5 separate regions of the Homo sapiens genome follow, and all the other regions are linked to region 5. Evidence: promoter capture Hi-C in human tissues and cell types (Jung and others, 2019). All regions are on one chromosome and are shown on one strand. The core of a region is centred on a gene start or on the middle of the fragment in contact, and the rest is flanking DNA. Distances in the headings are between cores, read along the strand shown. Region 1 overlaps SMG6 (SMG6 nonsense mediated mRNA decay factor). Region 2 holds the start of YWHAE (tyrosine 3-monooxygenase/tryptophan 5-monooxygenase activation protein epsilon). Region 3 holds the start of INPP5K (inositol polyphosphate-5-phosphatase K). Region 4 overlaps SMG6 (SMG6 nonsense mediated mRNA decay factor). Region 5 holds the start of SMYD4 (SET and MYND domain containing 4).

What was found. The method cuts DNA at HindIII sites, captures the fragments that hold promoters and counts their contacts. A contact is called where the count stands out against the background at its distance.
Region 1: a fragment that was not itself captured here is called in contact with the fragment with the promoter of SMYD4 in region 5 in 1 of the 25 tissues and cell types used here (dorsolateral prefrontal cortex).
Region 2: a contact is called between the fragment with the promoter of YWHAE here and the fragment with the promoter of SMYD4 in region 5, in 1 of the 25 tissues and cell types used here (bladder).
Region 3: the fragment with the promoter of INPP5K here is called in contact with the fragment with the promoter of SMYD4 in region 5 in 1 of the 25 tissues and cell types used here (hippocampus).
Region 4: a fragment that was not itself captured here is called in contact with the fragment with the promoter of SMYD4 in region 5 in 1 of the 25 tissues and cell types used here (dorsolateral prefrontal cortex).

The regions. Positions count from the first base shown.
Region 1 is chr17:2,221,419-2,224,291 of GRCh38, reverse strand. The region is part of intron 10 of SMG6 (SMG6 nonsense mediated mRNA decay factor); the gene reads left to right. Among named protein-coding and RNA genes, the nearest start is that of SMG6, 81 kb to the left of the region's middle. The HindIII fragment of the contact is 7,215 bases long and covers 1-2,873 here.
Region 2 is chr17:1,398,612-1,401,516 of GRCh38, reverse strand. It overlaps YWHAE (tyrosine 3-monooxygenase/tryptophan 5-monooxygenase activation protein epsilon), which reads left to right and starts at 1,295. Exons shown (of 6, transcript NM_006761.5): 1 at 1,295-1,470. The coding sequence starts at 1,407. RefSeq lists enhancers at 797-1,434, 1,435-2,072, 2,073-2,710. The HindIII fragment of the contact is 19,322 bases long and covers 1-2,905 here.
Region 3 is chr17:1,515,072-1,518,117 of GRCh38, reverse strand. It overlaps INPP5K (inositol polyphosphate-5-phosphatase K), which reads left to right and starts at 1,506. Exons shown (of 12, transcript NM_016532.4): 1 at 1,506-1,662. The coding sequence starts at 1,619. It overlaps PITPNA (phosphatidylinositol transfer protein alpha), which reads left to right. Exons shown (of 12, transcript NM_006224.4): 12 at 1-400. PITPNA-AS1 (PITPNA antisense RNA 1) reads right to left here and starts at 1,199. Exons shown (of 2, transcript NR_028514.1): 1 at 1,025-1,199; 2 at 22-400. RefSeq lists a silencer at 1,121-1,420. The HindIII fragment of the contact is 13,245 bases long and covers 1-3,046 here.
Region 4 is chr17:2,086,646-2,089,591 of GRCh38, reverse strand. The region is part of intron 13 of SMG6 (SMG6 nonsense mediated mRNA decay factor); the gene reads left to right. Among named protein-coding and RNA genes, the nearest start is that of SMG6-AS1, 1.6 kb to the left of the region's middle. RefSeq lists enhancers at 1-52, 63-242, 1,604-1,653. The HindIII fragment of the contact is 6,247 bases long and covers 1-2,946 here.
Region 5 is chr17:1,828,570-1,831,577 of GRCh38, reverse strand. SMYD4 (SET and MYND domain containing 4) reads left to right here and starts at 1,676. Exons shown (of 11, transcript NM_052928.3): 1 at 1,676-1,852. It overlaps RPA1 (replication protein A1), which reads right to left and starts at 1,573. Exons shown (of 17, transcript NM_002945.5): 1 at 1,452-1,573. The coding sequence starts at 1,484. RefSeq lists an enhancer at 177-677 and a silencer at 1,305-1,824. The HindIII fragment of the contact is 28,265 bases long and covers 1-3,008 here.

The sequences.
Region 1 (2,873 bases), core at 252-2,751, 390 kb before region 5:
GGGGTGTAGCCTTGTGGGACCCTAGCTTTATGATAAGGATCTTGGCTGTGTCCATGCAGCCTTGGAAAGCAAAGCTCGAGTTCATCAGGTAGCAAATGTTCTTAGGGTAAAGGCTGTTTGTAATGCCACACTTACCTATCTGGTTTCCCATCTTTATTCAATCTCTGACCAAAGGATTTTCTTTTATTTTACTAGCTCACGAATGCTTTTCAAAAAGATGTTTAACATACTCTTTTTTTCAGAATAATGAGCTGTTTGATTGGGAGAATGGATCTAGGTGTCTAGTCTGCCGTACTACCAGAGGAAGCTGGGATTTCCTTGTTCCATCAGACTTACTCAGACTTTCTTTCTTTTCTTTTCTTTTTTTTTGCTCTGCCTGTGATGCCCATGAGCAGTGTGACTGGGCACCTACATCCAGGGTGGCAAGGGCATGTAGTTTGCTCTTCCAAAGATTAGTTTCTTTTCCAGCTCCTGCCCATTTACAGCTCAGTCTTATGGCAAATGGTGTCATTGGGCTCACATTTTTTCATTTTTCCAAGAGGTGTCCAGTGTATAGAATATCACTTAGAGGGCTAATTGGGTGGGGAAGAAAGATCAAAGGAGTGGAGAGGAAAGGCTGCAGCTGAAGTGATAGGAGCCATTTATTGACAAAAAGATGTGAGTTAGAGATTTGGAAAAGAGTACTCTGTTGTTTCAGCTACATCACATTATATATCTGGTGAACCTTGCTGGCCCATGAAATCCTTTCCATTAGTCAGGGTTCTCTGTGCTTTTGTTCTTGACTACTGCTGTTCTTAGTGCTATTCGGTTTGCTTGTATGTCTCAGTTTCCTTTTCAGAAGGCAGATTGTCGTCTATTTAGGAATGCATTTACTGTAATTGGAGTGTTCTGGCTTGTTTAGTCCCCTCTTCAAATATAAGACTCATATCTTGAAGCTTATGTTCAGAAAATATGCGCGTGTGATCCCTTTGCCCCAAGTGCCAACAGCAGATGTAGCAGTTGACACGCTGCAGGGAATTTCCAACTGCTGGGCAGGTTTCTGAAATCCGGACACGTGCTGTTCACACTTTGGCTTCTGAGGCAAGGATCAGTGGTTGAAAGAGGGGAGGAGCTGGCAGGGGACTGCAGGGAGAAAGATCTTATAATGCCTGCCCAGGGCTTTAGGCTGTGTCAGCTTTCTGCATCTCTTCTCCAGCTGGAGCTGGCAGGGTCGAATAAATCACTGCAGAGTAGTTATGAGCCCAGCTCACCAGGGACTTCTTTGAGGCACACCTGTGACGTCATCCTGTTATCACTGTCTGTTCCACATAACCTCTTTTCACCTCTCCCCTGAGAGAGGGTGATGCCCAGAACTCATGTCAGGGCAATGAGCAGAGGAAAATGTTTCGTAAGTATTATTTTTCAGATGCCTGCTAGGGATACAGTTGTAGGCCATTGACACATTCTTCAATATTCCTCATTGGAAGAGAAAACCTGTGTTTGCAAACATGGCCTGAATACCCCTTGTGGATAAAACTTCTTTTTAAACTTGGAAAGAAAGTCTTGAAACTCCTAAGTGGTCTCTTTTTGTACCCCTTACCTCTCTCGTTCCTTCCCAAACATGCACACACAGACACATTACATACAGAGTCTGCTGTGTTCAAAATCCTTCACTGACTTCCCATTTCACTCAGTGTAAAAGCCACATTATTTACAAGGCCTTCATATATGGACCTCTTCTCCTGCCCCCCCCCCCCCCCCCCGCCCCCGCATTGCCTCTCTCTGAGCTCATTCACGACTGTTCTCCCCATGGCTTGGTTACTCTGCTTCAGCCACACTACCCTTCTTGCAAGTTCTCTGCTAAGCTGGGGACTCTCCCACCTTTGGCCCTTCGCATTAGCTGTTTTCTCTGTTTGGAATGTTCTGCATCCAGCCATCTGTCTGGTGAATACCTCGCCTCCTATAAGTCTTTGCTTAATGTTACTTCTGTGAGACCTGCCCCAACCATCCTATTTAACACTGCTGCATTCTACTCCAAACCTGCACTCTTTATCTTCCAATTCTATTGATTTATTTTCTAAATACTAGATAATTAATGTGTATATGTTTATTATTTATTTTCCTCTACTATTCTGCAAGAATGTAAGCTCCCTGCTTATAGGGGTCTCTGGTCTGTTTTATCCACTGATACATTGTGAACATCTAAAACAGTCCCTGACCTGTTGTAACTTCTCAGTAAACATGCGTTATATCAAGTTCAAGTCAAAGAATAATTTGAGGCCAGGTGCCGTGGCCGACGTCTGTAATCCCAGCTCTTTGGGAGGCCAGTGCAGGTGGATCACTTGAGCTCAGGAATTCAAGACCAGCCTGGCCAACATGGCGAAACCCTGTCTTTACTAAAAAATACAAAAATTAGCCAGGCATGGTAGTAATCCCAGCTACTTGGGAGGCTGAGGCAGGAGACTGGCGTTAACCCGGGAGGTGGAGCTTGCAGTGAGCCGAGATCACCCCATTGCACTCCAGCCTGGGCAACATTGCAAGACTCCGTCTCAAAAAAAAGAATAATCTGTCAGCAGGTCAGCCTGGACAATGAAGATTGAATGGCAAGGGCAGGGGCATCTGTTAACTAGGTTACTGCTCATAATCTTACTGTCTTTCCTTGTTTTTTGTTAAGGTGACTTTCTTGAAAGCATAATTTCCAAATGCATATTTTACATCTGGCATTAAAGTAAAATCCATTAAATGTGCTTTGGTATCTACTGTTGTATTAATCCTTTCTCATACTGCCATAAAGACATACCTGAGGCTGGGTAATTTATAAAGAAAAGAAGTTTAATTGGCTCATAGTTCCACAGGCTGTACAGGAAACATGGCTAGGGAGGCCTCAGGAGAAT
Region 2 (2,905 bases), core at 46-2,545, 430 kb after region 5:
CCCTGTCCCTGACAACTGTAACAGGGCCCAGTTCGTTTTTTTTCTTTTTCTTTGTTTTGAGACAGAGTTGTGCTCTTGTTGCCCAGGCTGGAGTGCAATGGTGTGCTCTCGGTTCACTGCACCCTCCCACTCCCGGGTTCAAGCGATTCTCCTGCCTCAGCCTCTGGAGTAGCTGGGATTACAGGCATGCACCACCACGCCCAGCTAATTTTTGTATATATATATAATTTTTCTTTTGAAACACAGTCTCACACTGTCGCCTGGGCTGGAGTGCAATGGGAGGATCTCGGCTCACTGTAACCTCCGCCTCCCGGGTTCAAGAGATTCTCCTGCCTCAGCCTCCTGAGTAGCTGGGATGACAGGCATGCACCACCATGCCAAGCTAATTTTTTGTATTTTTAGTAGAGACGGGGTTTCACTATATTGGCCAGGCTGGTCTCGAACTCCTGACCTTGTGATCCTCCCGCCTTGGCCTCCCAAAGTGCTGGGATGACAGGCATGAGCCGCCGCGCCCGGCCAGGGCCCGGTTCGTTACCCTGAGTCTAAAAGTGTCTGAAAAAGGCCCATGACCAGGCTTGGCCGAGAAAACTAGGACGTGGGCTGGGCGCGGTGGCTCACCCCTGGAATCCCAGCGCTTTGGGAGGCCGAGGGGGGGCGGATCATCTGAGGTCGGGAGTTCGAGACCAGCCTGGCCAACATGGTGAAACCCCATCTCTATTAAAAATACAAAAGCTGGGGGTGGTGGCGGGGGCCTGAAATCCCAGCTACTCGAGAGGCTGAGGCAGCAGAATCACTTGAACCCGGGAAGGCGGACGTTGTGGTAACCCGAGATCGCACCACTGCACTCCAGCCTGGGGAACAAGAGGGAAACTCCGTCTCAAAAAGAAAAAAGAAAAAAGAAAAAAGAAAAGAAAACCAGGGCGCGGTAGTGACAGCCTCAGATTTCGGGAAAGAAGACCTGCCATGACAGAAACCGTTACAGCCTCCGTCGTTCTTTTCCGCAGGTCGGGCCTCGGGCCCCGGTCTGACCCAGGTCTCTCGCTGGCTTTTTTCAGGAGCAGTCCCGGCCGGCCCCGCCTCAGCCCTTCTCGTTCCCCGGGGGCCGCTCCCTTTCGGCAGTCGCAGTTCCCGCCTCTGGGCTCCGGCGCCCGCTGAGCCGACAGAGGAGAGGCGTCTCGTGCGCTCGTTCCAGCCGCTTCGGGCGCCGAGTTCCAGGACCCGCCCCCCGCGCCAGTTGCCAGGGAGCGGTTGCCATAGAGCTGAGCAGTTGTCCGCGTGCGCAGGCGGAAGTCCCGGATTGAGGCGCCGCCATTTTTGCTGCCCGGACGCGGAGCGAGAGGCTGAGAGAGTCGGAGACACTATCCGCTTCCATCCGTCGCGCAGACCCTGCCGGAGCCGCTGCCGCTATGGATGATCGAGAGGATCTGGTGTACCAGGCGAAGCTGGCCGAGCAGGCTGAGCGATACGACGGTGAGTTGGGGGGGCAACGGGGGGCTGGAATTCTCGGACCCTCTGCCGCCGCCCACAGAGGCCGGGAACAGGAGACAAAATGGCGGCATCGTCTGCGAGCCTGGCCCGGGGGCTTGGGTTCGGGAAGCAGGAAATGGCCTGGGAGCTCCCGGGGCGATGGGAGGCTCTATGCCCTGGAATGTGACCCCTTCGCCGTCCTTAACTGCAAACAACTCGCGGGCCGGGAGGCCGGGGCGACGGGGTGGAGGAGTTGGTTGTAAAATGGCGGCTGGGGGGAGGGCGAGTCCCGGGGCGGGGGAGGGGGAGGAGATGGCGGGTGCTGTCTCCGAACGAGCCACCCTCATGGGAGCTTCTGGGACGGCCTTGGGATGTGGAGAACAATTGGGTGGGGTGACGGGGGAAGCAGCACCCGCCACATGGGAGAGAGCGAAGACCGGGAGCTGTAGCGCGGGCGCCTTTCAGGGAAATATGGCGGGTGGGGGCGGTGGCTTTTCCCCGGAGGCCCCGTGTGGGGCGGCGGCCGTGGAGTCTCACAAAGGAGGACCTTTGAGAGCGATGGGCTTCCTCAGGCCTGAGGTGGGGGACAGTCGTGGATGATGGTGGGGGGAGAGGGGTGAGTGGGAATCACTGCAGTTCGTCTTCGGGCGGTGGCAGGCTCCCATGCTGCGATCGGGTTTCTTTCCCGTAGGCCGGCACCTCGTAGTGAGGGGTTTCGGGGCTTTTCCTCCTCGTCGTCTTCTGGGGAGGCCCAGAAAATCCTCACTCCCTCCCTTTCCTCAGACTTAAAACAGGAGATCTCGAAGTTCCTGTAACCTTTCTCTGGCTCCATCACCCGTGGGTTCTGATGGATAGAACCAGGAGGCCACGACTCTGAGAGTTCGAGCCTTTGTAGAGCCCGAGCCTCCGTCCCCCCGTTTGTAAAAACGATGACTTTACAGTTTGTGCGCACCGTGATGACAAATGGGAAGACCTGTTGAAATAAAGTTATTTCCAATAGTGTTCAGTAACTGTATTTTGGTTGACTCTGCAGGCTCGGAATGCTGGTCTGTACTTCGTGGGGGATCTTAACCTATTCCAGGCGCTCGGCTGAGGCTGGGTTTTTTGAGTTATGAAGGTTGAAGATCCTGTTGCTTTCTTTTTTTCCGTTTTAAATAAATGGGTTTATGTAGAAATATTAGTAGGTCCTCTTTGTTCGTTGTTCTTTTGCCCCTAATGGGTTCTCCAGTCCTTTTTCAGAACTTCATCGAATGTCCATTGTGTCTGTCCAGTCATTGTCAGGAAGTTTATTCTTAATCCTCTCTCCCAGTCCACCTTTTGGACCACCTTTTGAAATACCCACACATTTATAATTGTGCGATACTGTAGTATTAAACGAAAGGTCATGTCTGTGGGTCCTGTGGTTTTAATGCTTTTGCGTGGTAGGGTGGGGTGAGAC
Region 3 (3,046 bases), core at 257-2,756, 310 kb after region 5:
TACAAACTACACTTTGTAGAATTGATTAGATTACCTTGTTTATTTAATGTGAGTTTGTGCCTTTTTGTCTCAATCTTCCAATACAGGTATATTGAGAAAAAAAGCAGTCTAATAAAATCCTAGACAGAACTTTCTGGAGTCCAGTTTGGTGATGTCCATTTTCCAGCTGTATGTATCCTCAAACTTGCACTGATAACCGCCATTTTACCAGGGCAGGATTAGGAAGAGGTACAAAGGTGTGTCTGAAAATTTTTGCACGTGGATTTCTGCATATAATAGTCCCGTGTCAGTTTACTTATGCAAACATTGCACATCTGAATTGTAATTCGGCCGTTTCCTACTGACAGGATGTCCTTTTGCTTTTGTCTGCCTCCTCTTCACATCTTCCTCTTTATCCACCCTACCAAACAAGCAAAACATTTATTTAAAGTAGTTTTAGGCCGGGCGCGGTGGCTCACACCTGAAATCGCAGCACTCTGGGAGGCCGAGGCGGGTGGATCAGCTGAGGTCAGGAGTTCGAGACCAGCCTGACCAACATGGCGAAACCCCATCTCGGCTAATTATTATTATTATTTTTTTTTTTTGAAACGAAGTCTCGCTCTGTCGCGCAGGCTGGGGTGCAGTGGCGCAATCTCGGCTCACTGCAACCTCCACCTCCCGGGTTCAGGCGATTCTCCTGCCTCAGCCTCCCGAGTAGCTGGGATTAACAGGCGCGCGCTATCAAGCCCAGCTAGCTTTTGTGTTTTTAGCAGAGACGGGGTTTCACCATGTTAAGGCCAGGCTGGTCTTAAACTCCTGACCTCAAGTGAGCCGCCCGCCTCGGCCTCCCAAAGTGCTGGGATTACAGGCATTGAGCCACCGCGCCCCGGCCTACGTTTCATTTATTGACGGCTAATTCTGTAGGAGTCCAGGAATCCCCAAACGTCCCATATGCAATAGGTAATCCAATAAGTTTGGAGTAGAAGCCTGAAAGTGGGCGTGGAGAACGGAGGCGCTCCCGCAGTAGCAGGAATGGGGAGATTACCTGCAGCCGGGGGGCGGGGGAGACCGGATCCCAGGCAGGACAGTGGCTAGGCTGCGTGTCCCCACCCCCGACCCTCGTTTGACCCCTGGGAGCCGGGGCGAAGACAGCACAAGGACGGAGCCCTCGGATCCCTCACGAGTGGGGCAGAGGCTGCGGCGGCGGCGAAGAGACAACTTCCGCCGGAAGACGGCCCCTGGCGCGGGGCACGCTGGGAGCTGCGGACGGCGGGCGCGGGCTGGGCCGGGTCTAGTGGCGGCCGCACACCTCGCGTCGTCTGGGGCAGTGTTGCGCGTGCGCTGATGACAGGCCCGACACGCCCCTCTTACGTCCGCGAACCCGTCTTCGCTCAGCCTCTCGCAGCTTTGCGCTCGTGGGAGAGTCCCGCCTCCTTCTGCGAACCGCACCACCCAGATCCCGGGGTGCGCGGAGGGCGCGTCTCTGACGGAAGCCGGGGCGGACGGTCGGAGTCCGGAAGAAAAACAGTCCGCGACAGCTAGGCGCGTGAGACCGGCCGCCCGCAGGGCTGCTCTGGCCGGGACCCGCTGGCCGGGAGACGCGAACCTGCCGGACCACCGCGCGGGGACGACGGCGGCCATGAGCTCGCGGAAGCTGAGCGGGCCGAAAGGCAGGAGGCTCAGGTGAGGGCACCCTGGCGGCAGAGGCAGGCCTGCTCGGGGGGATCGGCGCCCCTTGGGCTGCGGGCTGGGGGTGGACAAGGCACCAGACCTCCATGACTGCCTTTGGTTCAGAGGCGCTCTCGCCTTCTCCCACGCCTGTGTCAGGTGGGCTGTGTTGGGCCCGAGCCTCGCGCCCCCTCTAAGCCGAGGCCGCCAAGCTCGTTCCCACTGGGGCGCAGCAGGTGTCCCGGTTGCTTTCTGGAGAGGACAGCCGTGTGGGGTTGTTTGAGGTTAAAGACATAACGAGGCCGTCACCCTTCGGCTCTCGGTTAGAAATCTTTTTCCTACTTTTCATCAGCACATACATCAGGAGGTCTGCCTGATCCCATGGTGAACCCCGGGAATCCGAAATCAGATTGAGATAAGATCCTTTAGGGAAGTGACTTAGCCTGGTCTCTTGCCTGCTCTTTCACGGGGAACAACGCTAATCGCCCACTTAGTCTAAGTCACGATGCTTGGATTTGCTGCTAATCGTCGGATTTGAGAGTGGGAACAAGAAATCCGGACTTTTGCTCTCCATCCTCTTAGAGTGAGTCTGGGAAAAGAAGTCTCTGAGTAAAAGGTCTTTGTTCCTTAAGCCTCTGTCGGACAGCAGGGGGAGATCGTAAACAAATGAAGCTCAAAATCTCAGGCCGAGTGCCTGGGAAGGTGGTTTCTGTATAGTGTTGTTTATGCTAACAGGGAGGGACAGGAAGTTGCTTTAAACTGGCCAAGAATTTCTTGAAGTGCTTTTGAGAACGTCGACCTCTAAGGACGGGGTCTGTTGGAGGAGAGATGTTTTGGCATTAACTGCCCTTTTCTCCCATCCCCCTGTACCCTCTGCCATTCCAGATCTCCAGCTGCTGCAGGTACTCCTCATCGTGTGCCTAGGACTCATGCTAGGCTGTTCCTGGTCTCTGCAGGGTCTGTAGCTCCTGCCCGCTCTGTGCTCCGCACAGTCTGAGGCTTCTTGAAGAGCTGCTGTGACTGACTGTTCCACTAAAGACATCTGTAGGTCTCTCTTTCCTGAGCCTCTGACTGGATCCAGTGTCATTGAGGCCCCTTATCTAGTTTTCTTGCTTCCCTAAGACTTGTAAGCTGAGGTGGAAAATATCCAACTGATGACTTTTCCCCAGAGAGTACTCTTTATTTTTCACGGAATACTACGCAGACATAGAGCATAGACTCTTAAGAGAGATGTCGAGAAACCTGTTACTTAAAAACTCCTTGGCCGGGCGCGGTGGCTCAGGCCTGTAATCCCAGCACTTTGGGAGGCTGAGGCGGGCGGATCACCTGAGAGATCAGGAGTTCAGGACCAGCCTGGCCAACATGGTGAAACCCCGTCTCTACTAAAAATACAAAAGTT
Region 4 (2,946 bases), core at 7-2,506, 260 kb before region 5:
GCTGCCTCCGACAATCTTCAGGGGAAGGGAAAGGGGCTTTCTTTCAGCTCTTCCCTGACCTAAAGCCCCAGTTTTCTTTCCCAAGCTGATTGAAATGATTTGTATGTGATATTTTGTCAATTAACTTGGGAATTCTTGACAATCGCCTACACAGTGCATCTCCCTCCAGAAGGGTCAGGACTGTGACTGAGAAGGTACACCGCAGAGGAGAGGTCCGTAGGCTCCCCAGGGTGTTCCCTGGCTGGCGGCCCTTTTAGTCGCCTCTATCCCCAGTCCAGCCCCACGTGCTAATGTAGCCCAGGAAGGGAGCCTCTCCCGCCCAGCTCTTTCTCCTCTGGAGGATCCAGAGTTTGCCCCCAGAGCTGCGATATACATGCCACTTACATTCTCTGGTTTTCATTGATATAGAGTGGAAAAATGTGCTCACGAGCAGAGTTAACTGTGGGGATGATGTCACAGACTTCATCTGGAGTCCTTCCTCTCCAAGCAGGGAGTCCAGCTTTAACCCCTCTCCTACCAGGAAGTCCTCCTAGACCAAGCAAAGATCATCTTGGAATTGGCTTTTTGTCAGTGGTTTGAAAGGCTTCTTTCATTATGAAGTCTCTTATTAACTGTATTTAAACTGTCTTGTGTTGCTTTTTCCCTGACTCAAGTGCTGGAGGCTTTGTCTAGGAGAATATTCCCGTAAGTCTCCTACAGAACTCCAGCATCAAGAGAGCGGTGGTCCTCTCCCCAGTGGGCTTATTCCCCCCAAGTTAAGACAGAATGCTTTTGCAGACAGGCCAGTGAGCTACAGACAGAAGGTTTCTCTGTGCCTCTGGGCAAGCCCTGGACATTCTGCCTCTCAGTTTCTCCATCTACTAAAGAGCTCAGACTGTGCACTTCTCACTCCCACAGTACACTTTACACAGCTTTGACCATCCTCCCTGCTGCTTGGATTGCAAAGGACAGGGTACTCTTCCAAAAGACAGACAACCTTTCTCTCTCCAAACAGGTAGAATCCTTTCCAGGCCTGTTAACACCAGGTCAGAGACCCCAGTAGATCACAGCCTTTTGCATATCAGCCAGCAGTTGTCCTTGTCCTAGAGAAGGAACTAATAGCTATGACAGACACAATCCCCAAGGAAACCAATTTCCTTCTAAATGGGGCGGAAATGAAAACTGGGAGAGGGCTACTCCTCGTTGCTTGTGTCCATGGAATAGGCAATTCCCACAGACCCTGTAAGGAAGTGCTGCAGGTGGCCTCAGGATGTCCACATCCCTGGGTCCTGCTGTGCCCTGGAAATCCCCATCTCCAGGAGTCCCACATCCACACATGTGGCTTTTCTCCCTGTCGGCCAGAAACCATGCTTTCTTAGCCACGCAGCATACCATGTAGCCCGTGCTCTAGCAGCAGCAACACTCCTGCCCGCCTGTCTGTGCATGTGTCCGTGGCACACTCCTGTCCTGGGCAGGTTTCCTCTGCACACTTAGCAGGGGTGCCAGTGTACCTCTCATCGTCCAGGTGAGGCCAAGGACAATTGCAAGCTTTTCCTCTGTCCTCTTCTCACTCCTTAGCTCCCCTCTCCTCTCCATTCAGTGGCAGCAGCCTCACACCAAGAAGGAAAATCCTGGACCCATTACATAATTCTCCATAGTGCAAGCAGTAGCTGGGGCGTAAGGTCAGAGGTCATAGTGGGGTCAGGTGGCTGACACACACTGTAACGACAAGGTGGTTAAAATTAGACCACAGAGAGGAAACTGGCAGTCTTGTGGAAATGCAGAAGTTTCCTATGCAAGTGAGAGGCTGGAGATGCAGGGAGGCCACTGTGCGTGCTGCCTGCCAGGCTATTACTCATTTCGGCTCTGTTCTTTAATGCCTTTTAGCCCCTGCTTCTGTATTTCTAGCCTTCCTCATCACATGTTTGAATACACGCAATGGAACCAGGCTTACCTGCCCTGGGCCAAGACAAGCTTCCCTTCTCCTTCACGGAGGCAAGCCCAGGACCAGGCACCCCAAGCTCAAGGGGCTGAACTTTTTCTAAGCCCTTCTGGGTAGCCGAGAACCTTCTACATCAACCTCTCAGGTGAAGGTGGTCAAAGTACTTAGCTTGAGATTCCAGCCTATAATGGTAACAGGGCCAATGGTGAGAGAAAGCAGAGAACACTCCTAGACCGTGTAGGAAAGCGGGGTTGGCTTTTTGGTGAAGGTGGCAGAGGATGCAGCCACAGAGCACACAGTTGACCGGTGTGTGCCGCACTTTCCTGGGCAGCCAGCCTGCACAGCGGTGCTCATTTATTTCCACTGTCTTAGAGAACATGGGTCATGCCTGCTTCATCTGCTCTCTGTGGTACCCAGCCGAGCTTCCCTGGGCTGTCCGTCTTTACTGTGAGCCTACTGTGTGCACAGCTTGTCCTTACAATTCTTGCCAGTGACGTACGAAAACGATGAGATTTAGGCTTTGCCACCAGAGGGGTTGCTGTCCACATGAGAGAGAGAACACCTGCACCTGTAAAATGATCATCAGTAGTCTCCAGGTTAGTACTTCCCTATGTGCTGCAGATAGAAGGCTTATTACTGTGAAGTTCCTTTCACACTAAGAAACGAGGATGCATTAAAAGAGAGGCAGGGGCTAGTCAGTGAGGATGAAGGGGCCGTCCCCTGTGGCACGTCTGGCCACGGACGTGTGTTTCCCATGTGGAATGGCCTTCAGCTTTCAAGCTCCAGATCCAGCAGGGCCCCTCTCCCTTGGTGAGCACTCAGCCAGTAGGGAGAAGAGGATGCTGGAGGCTAGAGATGAAGAGAAGGGCACACAGGGGCAAGCATGGAGGAGAGTGTGAGCCAAGCAAACGGGTGTGGAGGAGAGGGCATGCAGGTGTGGTGCCTCCAGAAGGGGGGCCCAGACTGGGGGACGGTGGACACTTAATCTGAGACACTTACACATTTGACTGTTGCTCAAGATACTG
Region 5 (3,008 bases), core at 427-2,926:
GTAGGAGTATGGAATATACCAGAAATCTAAATTTAAAAAAAAATGTGGGGGTGACTGGAGAGGTAGGCTGAGAGTATGCTGTGGATGGGAATGGTGGCAGGAACGTATGCTGAGTGGAAGTCAGCAGCTCAGGCAAAAAAAAAGACGGTGCCAGTATGGATGGAGAGAAGCCAGTGGGCTTGATAGATCTACGCAGAGGCAAAATACACTTCACTTCGTGAGGGACTGGATGCCCAGGTAATGGACAATATAGGAGGAATGATTTCTCAATTTCTGGTTAGCACTGAACTGAATAGATAATGGTGCCATCCGTGGAGATAGGGATCAAGAGGCCCAGACTTAGAAAGATAAAGAATTTGCTTTGGGATACGTATACTGAACTTAAAACCCTCTGAAGCATGGAATAAGCAGACAGATGACGGAAGTTTGTCTTTTAGAGTAAAGGTGGCTCTGTACAAAGAAATTTGTGAGCAACTGACATATATTAATAGATGGCAATGGAATTGCCTTGGGGCCAGGCGCGGTGGTTCATGCCTGTAATTCCAGCATTTTGGGAGGCCGAGGCGGGCGGATAACTTGAGGTCTGGTGTTCGAGATCAGCCTGGCCAACATGATGAAACCCAGTCTCTAATAAAAACACAAAAAGTAGCCGAGTGTGGTGGCGCACACATGTAGTCCCAGCTACTCGGGAGGCTGAGACAGGAGACTCACTTGCACCCGGGAGACGGAGGTTGCAGTGAGCCGAGATCGCGCCTCTGCACTCCAGCCTGGGCGACAGTGAGTGTCGCCCAGGCTGGAGAAAAAAAAAGAAATTGCCTCGGGAGTCAAGAGGGCCTAGAGGGAGCCTTGATTCAACAAAAATTTACAAAGAGGGACTTACAAATAAGACGGGGATAGACCTGCCAAGCTGAGCCACTAAAAACCAAGGAAGAGGGTGTGACCTGAAGCAAGCAGGGCTTAAACGCAAACGCTGCTGAGAACTCAGGTAAGCTGAAAACGGAAAAGGGCTGGATTTAGCAACTTGGAGGCCACTGGTACCTTCAGCCAGGGTTTTCTACAGCGATCAAAGGGATGACTGGAGTGGGTTAAAGAGTTGATGAAAGGCGAGGAAAGGAAGTGGCTGAAACCAGACAAGAAGTTTGGCTGTGGGTGGGGAAAGGAGAAGAGACAGAAAGTGTCCGCAGGTGGAAGATGCAGAGAAAGGCAAGCGTTTATTTAGTTTGTTCTTACGTAGGAAAAATGTGAGCATGTTTTAAAGACGATCGAAAGAATGCTTTGAGGAGGGGGCGATGACACTAGAGGGACGCCCGGCGGGTCCCCACCGCCCCCCGCCATCTCCTCCCCTCGCGTTCATCCCCCGTCGCCCCGGGCTCCCCTCCCCCTCTCTACTCCGCGAGGCTCGGGGCCGCAGCCACCCCGGACCGCCGGCCCAGCCCCCGGCACCTCCTCACCGCAATGGCCCCCTCGCTCAGTTGGCCGACCATGGCTCCACCGCCAAGACTTCCCCGCGGACCCCGCAACAGCTCCAGCTTCCCCACCCGGGTCCCGCGCGCTGCGCAGTTATTGGCCCGAGAAGTTGCGCGCACCGCTCCCGCCCCCGACGTGCGCGCGGCTCAGGGGCGGGCCCGGGCGCTACGCAGCCGCCGCATTGGCCGAGGCGCGGCCCACGTGACCCACCCATGGTCCCAAGCGAGGCCTGGCGCGGGACGCCGGACGCGGTGCGGGGCGGAGCGGGGCGCCAAGGGGCGCGCCAGGAGCTGCGCGGGCGCTGGGAGGGAGACCAGGGCGCAGTTCCGGGCGCGTCTGAGCGGTTCTCGAGGCGTTCTCGCCTCGGTCTCTGGCGAGTGCACGGGTTGGTATCCCAGAGGAGGTTAAAGCTGTTCCTTGAGACCTCCGCTGCTAAATAGAGTCGCAGTAGTGACCCGATTCGTCCAGCAACGCGGGGCTGACTTCCCGCCTCCAAGCCCTGAGCTTGGCACCGTGGCGGTGGGGGGTGGGGGTGGGGGGTCTCCGAAAGGGAATCAGACCCGGCCCCCGTCCTTAGAGAAGAGGACAGTGTGTGGGGGCACTTTATGCCGTCAGTAACCCCACCTCCAGGTAGACGTGGTACAGGCCCCAAGGGTGTTGGAATCACAGCTGGGAAATCAGGGACGCCGTCCCGGAGGAGGTGCCATTTGAGCCGAGTCGAAGAACGTGTGGGAATTTTCCAGGTGGACTCCATAAGCCAGGGTAGGGTTGGTCCGGAAAGCATGAGTAGCCTATGCCAAAACATTGGAGAGTTGAAATAGCCTGGCAAGCCGGGGATAGCAATGAGTTGTTCAGTATGCAAGGGTGCATGCAGAGGAGTAAGTGACACCTGAGAATTAGAAAGTCAGACAAGGGTCAAGTAAGGATGGTTTTGTCCTGGGCTTCCTGGTATGCTTGGAGTAGCGTTGATGAATTTAAGGGCAGAGCACTGACTTCTGTCTCAGTGTTGGAGGCTGGATTGAAAGTGGGGAGTGGTGCCAATGGCATGGACATTAATTATAACACTCTAGGAAGAATGCCAGACGAGATGGTGAGGACTTAATCAGAACGCTGAACTATGTAAGAGAGGGAAATACCTTGTTAAATGAATAGTTGCTGGGGTGGGTGAGAAAGAAAAATCTGGGATGTGTCTCAGAGAAACTAGAGAGGGATCAGGCCGGGCGCGGTGGCTCACGCCTGTAATCCCAGCGCTTTGGGAGGCCAAGGCTGGCGGATCATCTGAGGTCAGGAGTTCGAGACCAGCCTGGCCAACATGGTGAAACCCCGTCTCTACTAAAAATACAAAAATTAGCCGGGCGTAGTTGCGCGCATCTGTAATCCCAGCTACTCGGAGGCTGAGGCAGGAGAATTGCTTGAACCTGGGAGGCGGAGGGTGCAGTGAGCCGAGATGGTGCCACTGCACTCCAGCCTGGGTGACAGAGCAAGACTCTGCCTCACAAAAAAAAAAAAAAGAGGATCTAAGAGCACAGATGGTAGCTATC